Linked DNA regions of Homo sapiens: region 1 is linked to region 2. Evidence: promoter capture Hi-C in human tissues and cell types (Jung and others, 2019). All regions are on one chromosome and are shown on one strand. Each heading gives the region's core, a stretch centred on a gene start or on the middle of the fragment in contact. The rest is flanking DNA. Distances are from core to core; before and after follow the strand shown. Region 1 holds the start of ZNF211 (zinc finger protein 211). Region 2 holds the start of ZNF324B (zinc finger protein 324B).

Region 1 (4,453 bases), core at 106-2,605, 820 kb before region 2:
TTTAACTAGCCGGGTGTGGTGGTGTGCTTGTAGTGCCAGCTACTCAAGAGGCTGAGGTGGGAGGATCACTTGAGCCCAGGAAGTGGAGGCTGCAATGAGCTATGATTGTTCCACTGTACTCCAGCCTGGACAACAGAGTGAGACCCTGTCTCAAAAAAAAATTAAATGTTTTGATTATACAAGGAAAATGAACATTCATGTATTAAAGCTTCATGTTTTATGAACAAAACTGACTTTGCAGGCAGGAGAGCGTTTTCTGGGGGCACCAGAAGCAGGGAACTTCCCTTGTCCGTTGGCTTCAGGGCTGCCCACTATCCCTCCACTATCTTCCCATTGTAGCCCTGTCTGGTGTCTTTTGTCCCTGACAAAACCTACAAAAAGTGACTTTAACACTTCAGGCTGCATGCATTTGAAGAGCAATAAGATAACGTTTTTTCGCTTCCCACTACCAGTGGAGATCTGCTGGGGTGGGCTGCATGGAATCTGAAATGATGTCTAAATACTGAAGTGAACCTCTACACTAGAGACTGATATACAGCTGACCCTTAAACGACGCAGGGGTCAGGGATACCGACCCCTGCGGAATTGAAAATGCTTGTATTACTTTTGACTCCCCTAGGTCTTAACTACTAATAGCCAACTGTTGCCCGGAAGCCTTATGAAGTTGCCCGGAAGCCTTATGAATTACATAAACTCCCAGTCGATTAACACATTTTGTATGATATATGCATGATATATGCATAATATATATGATATATGCATTTTGTATGATATATGCATTATATATATTTTAGTATAAGAACTATACTTGTACTAAAACAGACCAGAGAAAGGGTATCAGGAAAATTGTAAGAGGCTCGTTGACATTACACCCAATTAAAAAAAGGAAAATAAAAGAATACGGAAGGGAAAATACATTTACTAATCATTAAGTGGAAGTGGATCATCATAAAGGTCTTCATCCTTGTGTTCTTCATGCTGGGCAAGAGAATGAGGTCTTGCTGTCTCTGGGGCAAGAGGTCGGGGAGCTGGAAGAGGCAGGAAAAGGAGCACACTCGAAGTAACGTTTATTGGGGAAAAAAAACGCCTACGTGTAAATGGACCCGCACAGCTCAAACCTGTGTTGTTCAAGTGTCAACCTACTTAAGACCTCAAACACCGAAGCCCCTCAGTCGCCCTGGAAGGCAGCAGACGCAGCTTCCTAGCGCTCCCAGCTGTCTGCACACAAGGCGCCCTCCGTCGCAGCCTGGGGGAGACTACATTACCCAGAAAGCCTTGCGTCGAGCGGCAGTACTTTGATCCAATGAAAATCCAAGACAGGGGCATTTCCGTGTGGGTCTACCCCCGCCCCCCCCAGGGCGGGACTTGTGGCGTCTTCGCAGCGGTCATTTTGGCTGCCCTCCCGGAGGTCCGTTCTGTCTGTCAGCCGCTTTGGTACGCTGCATCGGGATCGAAGTGACGGACCGTGAAGGCGCGAGAGTCAGGTCTGAGGGTCGGGGGCAGAGCCGCCCGCGAGGCCGGCCTGGGGATAGCGATGCTCGGGTTCCCCCCGGGTCGCCCGCAGCTCCCGGTCCAGCTCCGCCCACAGACTCGGATGGCGACCGCACTGAGGGACCCGGCTTCGGTGAGCGCTGCGATCTCCGGGCCTCCCCCGGCCGAGATTCTTAAGTCCCAAGTGAGAGGCACCAGCTCACGTCTCTGTAGCACAGGGTCGGGGACACTGAGGCTCGTGGGTGGGGCCCCTATTTCTGACATCCGATGTGGTGGGCAGGGGGACAAGGGACAGGACCGGCGCGTGCAGGGCTTGGACGGGCAACCGAGAAGGGGGCATTCAGGAACCTGGGCTCCACATTGTTACTGCAGGGAACAAAGTTTGAGAGAGATCTACCTTTATTCTTAGGGCCGTGGGAGCCATAGAGAGCTTGCGCAAACGAGAGACACCATCTGAGTTAAATTTGAAAAATCCTCTGCAGGCTGTTCAGTGGAAGAAAAGACTTTAGAGATGGATGAGGACGTTGAGGCAGAGGGAGGTTGAATATTTTTCCAAGGCCACACAACTGGTGAGAGGCAGCACTAAGGACCGAGGCGCACAGGTTAGACAGTCGACCCAAAGTTACGTGGCTCTGGGCCGGGGCAAGGGTACAGGGAAGGCCTGTGCCCATGGAGCACTGCCATGATCACATTCCTCTGAGGCCTGCGTCTTTCCACAGGTTCCCATAGCTACAGAGGTGCTTTTCAAACTTACACAGGTAAGTGGAGGTATCTCAGCCCCTCACTGGTCTGGAATGTCCCTCCACCCTCCCCAGACAGATATTTTCTTTAGATTTGTGGTGTCATGGGACTCACCTACCATTCTCTCAGCGTTTGGTTTGGGAACCCTGGAGAATCCCTGAGCTAAGGGCCCTGAGTCCAGGCCAATGTTTCCATTTGGAGCAGCCAATGGAAAGATGGGTGAAAATTTATGATAGAAACAGGTAGGTACCAGCTTTTGGAACTCCTTGGAGGTGAGGCTGAGCTGGTTCAGGGAACTGCAGGTTTCCTTTATTTCTGTGAAGTTTGGCATCTATTGTGAGGAAGTTGGAGTTTGGGATCAGAGGAGGGAGATTTATCTAACCCAAGTGTTGACAGGATACAGAGTGGAAAACAGAATGAACACAGTGACTAATGGGAATGTGAAGAGACAGCAGGGATCAATGACACCAAGGTCTGGTGTCTCTTCTGACTTGGGGATCTTGGGAGGAGAATGTATGGGGACATGGATTTTGAGTCTTCCAAATTGAGACTGTTCATGGTTTCATCAATCCCTATTATGCTAGGGAAGTGTGACCTTTGAAGATGTGGCCGTGTACTTCTCCTGGGAGGAATGGGATCTCCTTGATGAGGCTCAGAAACACCTGTACTTCGATGTGATGCTGGAGAACTTTGCACTTACGTCCTCCCTGGGTAAGGCCCTCATACTCACCCTTGTGCCCTGGACTAGGCTCTCTGTTTCTCCTTTTCCTCAGGAGCAGCTCTGTCCTCATATCTGGACTATAGGCACTGCCTCCTTCCCCAGTTCCCTGGGTAGATGTTGTGGACTGAGTGCAAGCCTACTTCCCTTATCGTCCCAGCCCAAAAGCATCTTGGGTAAGGATTTGGGATCAGTAGTCTTACAGTAAGCCTAATAGATCCCACCTGACTTGCCTTCTCCCTGTCTGGTGACTTTCTAGATCTATGGCACCCAGTTTTCCCTCCCTTCGTGTACCTAACATTTATTTGTGCTAGACTGTGACATGAAATGTAGTCACTGACATTGCCACTATTTACACAGACTGTTCTTCAACCACCAACCTTTCCATTAACAGCAGAACACTCTAACAAATTGTGCCGCAGAGACATTACACAGACTGTTCTTATAGAAACCTCCTTCAAGGTGTTTTTCTTTGTTTTTAATTGTAAAATATATATAACAAAATTTACCATTTTAATCATTTTCAAGTATATAGTTCAGCGCATTTAGTACATTCGCATTATTGTGCAACCATCACCACCATCCTTCTATAGTACTTTTTCATCTTATAAAACTGAAACTTTGTACTCATTAAATAATAACTCTTCCCATCCCCTGGCAACCACCATTTTACTTTTGGTCTGTATGAATTTGTCTACTGTAAGTACCTCATATGAGTGGGATCACACAATATTTGTTCTTTTCTATCTGGCTTACTTCACTTAGCATAATATCTTCAAGATTCATCCATGTTGTAATATATATCAGAATTGCTTCTTTTTAAGGCTGAATAATATTCTTTTGTATGTATTACAGTTTGTTTATCCATTCCTTCATCAGTGGACACAGGTTGTTTTCACCTTCTGGCTGTTGTGAATAATATTACTGTGAACATGGGTGTACAGATACGTATTTGTGTCCTTGCTTTCAATTCTTTTGGGTATTGGCCCAAAAGTAGAATTTCTGGATCATAAGGTAATTATTTTTAATTTTTAAGGAACCACTAAAATTGTTTTTCATAGCAGCTGCACCATTTTACATTCCCACAAGCAGCTGACAAAGGTTCCAGTTTCTTCACACCCTCACCATCACTTGTTATTTTCTGATTTTTTTGATAAGTCATCCAAATTGGTGTGAGGTGATATCTCACTGTGGTTGTGATTTGCAGATTACTGATATTGAGCATCTATTCATGTGCTGATTGGCTATTTGTATATCTTCAAATGATATTGCTTATTCAAGTCCTTTGCCTATTTTTAAATTAGGTTTTATTAATTATAATTAGAAGTATTAAATATAATTTTTTATTGAGCTTTAAGGGTTATCTGTGTGTTCTAGATATTCCCTTATCAGATATGTGATTTGCAAATGTTTTCTCTTATTCTGTGGGTTACGTTTTTAGTGTGTTGATAGGATCCTTTGATGTACAAGTTTCTCATTTTGATGAATTCAGTTTTACTTTTT
Region 2 (4,170 bases), core at 565-3,064:
GGAAGAAGGGAATTGCCTTGTCTCAGATGAGATTTTGGACTGTGGACTTTTGAGCTAATGCTGAAATAAGTAGACTTTGGGGGACTGTTGGGAAGGCACGATTGGTTCTGAAATGTGAGCACGAGATTTGGGAGGGGCGAGGAACAGAATGATATGGTTTGGCTGTGTCCCCAACCAAATCTCATTTTGAATTGTAGCTTTCATAATTCCCACATGTTGTGGAAGGGGCCCCAGTTAGAGGTAACTGAGTCATGGGGACAGTTTCCCCCATACTATTCTTGTGGTAGTGAGTAAGTCTCACGAGATCTGATGGTTTCATAAGGGGTTTCCTCTTTTGCTTGACTCTCATTTGCTCTTGCCTGCTGCCATGTAAGACGTGCCTTTCACCTTCTGTCATGATTGTGAGGCCTCTCCAGCCACGTGGAACTATGAGTCCACTAAACCTCTTTTTCTTTATAAATTACCCAGTCTCAGATATGTCTTTATCAGCAACGTGAAAACAGACTAATACACCAGGCATCGTGGCTCCTGCCTGTAGTTCCAGCTACTTGGGAGGCTGAAGTTGGAGGACTGTTTGAGCATGGGAGGCGGAGGTTGCAGTGACCCGAGTATGCACCACTGCACTCCATCCTGGGTAAGAGAGTGAGACCCTGTCTCAAAAAAAAAAAAAAAAAAGTAAAAAAAAATTGCTTGAAATGTTAATAATGCCTCTAAGCATTTGATTAAATCACAATAGTACTTAAGTGTTCTTAAATTCTTTCAAAGCAGGAAAAATTTAAATAAAAACATTCAAAAATTGTCGAGCTATCTTACACTATAGGGATCTACAAGTAGAATCAATTCTGTGGACAGTTATAGCTGACAGTAGACAGATATTTATAGATGGAGGTGGGTATAGAGGAAGACAAAATGAATTAACGTACTTGACATCTGAGAACTGTCTAAGGATCCTAAAAACAAGACCCTCACAGGGAAGCAACAAAGAGAGAATCGTTTATTCTCTGCCAACAACATGGTCAGTCTACATTGAGACTGCCCTGCCTTTTGTTGTTATGTGTCAAAGACACTTAGATTGGTCCAGAGAAAAAAGGAACAAAGCATCCATGTTGTGATGTGTGGGGCAAAGCAAGAACTAGATGGTCTAAGGACAAGCAAGGCTGGGGAATTACCTTCTGCTCGTCCAAGTTACAAGGAAAACAAGTTTTGGGCGAGCGTCCAAGAACAATCACAGAATCAAGACAAATGACAAGCGGGTAGTGTCATTACAGGCTGAGAATTCTTGGTGTAGAGGTTGAAAAACGGACCTTAAACCTTTACGGGACACTGACACACAGAGAGATCAAACCCTCGCCCAGGATGCACAGTCAGTGAGATGCAAAGCTGGGAAGGGAACCCGGAGCTCCAGGCATCTGCTCCTCCACCTACACCTGCCCTACCCGGTGCGTTTTCTCCTCCCTGCTACCTGCTGGTGTTGCCTTCTGGAACCTCCGCAGTTTCTGCTTTCACACCTGCAGGGTTTAGTCTCCAGGGCTGCTTAGGTGGGTGCCAGGAACTGGGAATCCCCAACGCGGGACAACCTGCCGGGCGACTCAACCAGTGCCACGGAGCCCTTGGAAACCCGCGGCAGCTGCGCTACTCCATTTCCAGGCGCCCAGCGCGGCGGCGCTTAGCCGTTGCCATGGAGACTGGTAATGGCCCCGCCTCCGCGCCGAAAAACAGGCAGGAACCACATAACCCAGAAGGCTGTGCGCAAGCGTCTGCGCGCGTATTGGGGCAATGTGAGCTCTGGGGGCTGGACTTCCGGCGTTGGGACTGTCACTTGGCTGCTCGCGTCAGGCCACACCGGTGGTCTGGGCTGTGGCGCGCGGGTCGGGGCCCGAGGCGGGCGGCCAGGAAGGTACGGACCACGAGCAGCCGGCCGCGCCCCCAAGCCTCGGTATCTTCGAGTATGACGTGGTCGGCCCGGGGGCGGTCGGGCCCCGGCGGGAACCACGCGTTCTCCCGCCCCGCGGAAGCCCAGGAGGCAGCGCATTGGGCATTCTGCGCCCATGACTGCCGGGCAGGCTGAGGCGCGGGGCAGCCGCGGGAGGCTGCTGGCGGGGATGGCGGTCCCGGGTGGTCCATGCCTTTCTTCCCTCCCAGTTGCGGGTTCCGCTGGCGGCGGTGGCGCTGACAAGCCCGCGCCGGGGGGGCGGGGGAGTCCCTGCTCACACAGACTGCGCCCCCACGGAGTGAGGCCGCTTCCTAGACCTCGCCTAGTCGTCTTTCCTCTCCCTGCCCTGGGGGGGTTGCGGGGGTCAGTGCAAACTCCTGCGTCCAGGGCACTGGTGAGCTCCCGACTTCCGGCAGCCAGGGGGCTGAGGTCCCGAAGGAGGCTCCGAGGGGAGAGTCCTGCGTGTGCAAAACCTGGGAGGGGAGCCGAAGCCCAGATGCTTCTGGGACTGAGCGCTCTCGATGTGGAGCTGGAGTAGAGGGGATGTGTGCGGCTGCAGTAGCAGGCGAGGGAGTGGGCTTTATCTCGAGGGCGTCGGGAGACATAGAAGTTTTGAACAGAATCAGGACATCCTCTGAGTTGGGACTTTAAAACGGTTCCACCGTTTGTTGCGTGGAGAACAGACATGCAGGGGTGTCGGCATGAAGGGAAGAACCGACTGCCACAGTCTGGGCAGCAGTGGAGGTGGGCGACCAGGTGAATTCTGGTGGATCTGCGGATGCATCAGGTGTGGGCTGTTTGAAGAACTAAGTACCCCATGTTGTTCAGCCTGAGCGCCTGGAAGAAGAGAGCTGCTGTAGATAGAAAGGAGAATTGAAAGGAAAGCAGGTTTCCTTCAGGGGAAAGATCAAGAGTCTGGGATGTCCCAGGTTGGTCATGTCACTGGACCTGACGTTGTTGGTGTCCTGGGCTGAGGACAGGGCCTATAAACTGGACTGAAGAAGGCGATGAGCAGTCAGGCGTGCGGAGTTACAGCTTGAGGGTAAAGAAAACCGGCTGGGGTGCCTGAGGCTATCAGGGGAGGAGTTCGGCAGGTGGCTGAATAGGAGAGGGTGGCAGCAATGTGGGAAAGAAATTGCGGGAGCGCTGAGATCGAGACCATCCTGGCTCACACAGTGAAACCCGGTCTCTACTAAAAATCCAAAAAAATTAGCCAGGTGTGGTGGCGGGAGGCTGAGGCAGGAGAATGGCGTGAACCCGGGAGCCGGAGCTTGCAGTGAGCCGAGATTGCCCCACTGCACTCCAGCCTGGGTGACGGAGTGAGACTCCGTCTCCAAAATAAAAATAAATAAATAAATAAATAAATAAATAAATAAATAAATAAATAAATTGAGGAGGGGGCGCCATGTGGAGGGAGGAAGGGATTGAGTTCCCCTGTGTTCACAGGTTCTTGGGGCTGCACCCCTATGACGACTGGTGGGGATCATCCAGTCCCTCAGGCTGGATGAGCAGCCTGGAAATGTCAGGCAAGCGCAGCAGGGGAAGGTCTCAGTGATGGGCATGCCTGGGGGGTCCACAGCTGGGACTTACACCCTTGCTTATTACAAAAGCAAGAAGGGCACATCTGGGGAGGGTCATGAATGGTCATGCTGAGTCACGAGTGGATATTTGGGGCTGCCCTTGGTGTGGCAGCTAAGGGCCCAGCCAGGGCTTGCTCTAGCCTGCTTGTGTAGGGGTGGCCAGTGGGGAAGTCAAGAAGCCATCTGGGGCCTGGACCAGGAGGGCAGAGGGGAGGGGTCCCAGACAGGTGAGGGAAGTGCCACCTGAAGATAATCTCGGGGTGGAACCCAAGGAAGGAGGGACACTGGGGGAGGTGACTGTTGGGATGGGGAGCTTGGTCCTGGCTCACAGCCATACCTTAGACCATGCCTACCTCCACCTCCCTGCTGTTTTAGGACCTGATGACCTTCGAGGATGTGGCCGTGTACTTCTCCCAGGAGGAGTGGGGGCTCCTGGACACAGCGCAGAGGGCCCTGTACCGCCACGTGATGCTGGAAAACTTCACACTTGTGACCTCACTTGGTAAGGCCCTGGGTGCTCCATGAAAAGTGCACTTGGTGACAATCAGGACTGCCTCTTCACTTCCCTCCTGGTTGATGAGCAGGATCAAATCTGGCCAGGGCCACGTGGAACAAGGGTCTGGTCCTGTAGACACAAAGTTTGGTTGGGTCAGCCAC

The links. Contacts are between HindIII fragments. The study calls those that stand out against the background at their distance.
Region 1: the fragment with the promoter of ZNF211 here is called in contact with the fragment with the promoter of ZNF324B in region 2 in 1 of the 25 tissues and cell types used here (lymphoblastoid cells).

The regions. Positions count from the first base shown.
Region 1 is chr19:57,631,813-57,636,265 of GRCh38, forward strand. It overlaps ZNF211 (zinc finger protein 211), which reads left to right and starts at 1,356. Exons shown (of 4, transcript NM_006385.5): 1 at 1,356-1,624; 2 at 2,211-2,249; 3 at 2,817-2,943. The coding sequence starts at 1,535. RefSeq lists enhancers at 956-1,045, 1,116-1,165 and a silencer at 1,606-1,675. The HindIII fragment of the contact is 12,794 bases long and covers 1-2,363 here.
Region 2 is chr19:58,449,808-58,453,977 of GRCh38, forward strand. It overlaps ZNF324B (zinc finger protein 324B), which reads left to right and starts at 1,815. Exons shown (of 4, transcript NM_207395.3): 1 at 1,815-1,897; 2 at 3,889-4,015. The coding sequence starts at 3,895. RefSeq lists silencers at 1,521-1,847, 1,825-2,254. The HindIII fragment of the contact is 12,073 bases long and covers 1-4,170 here.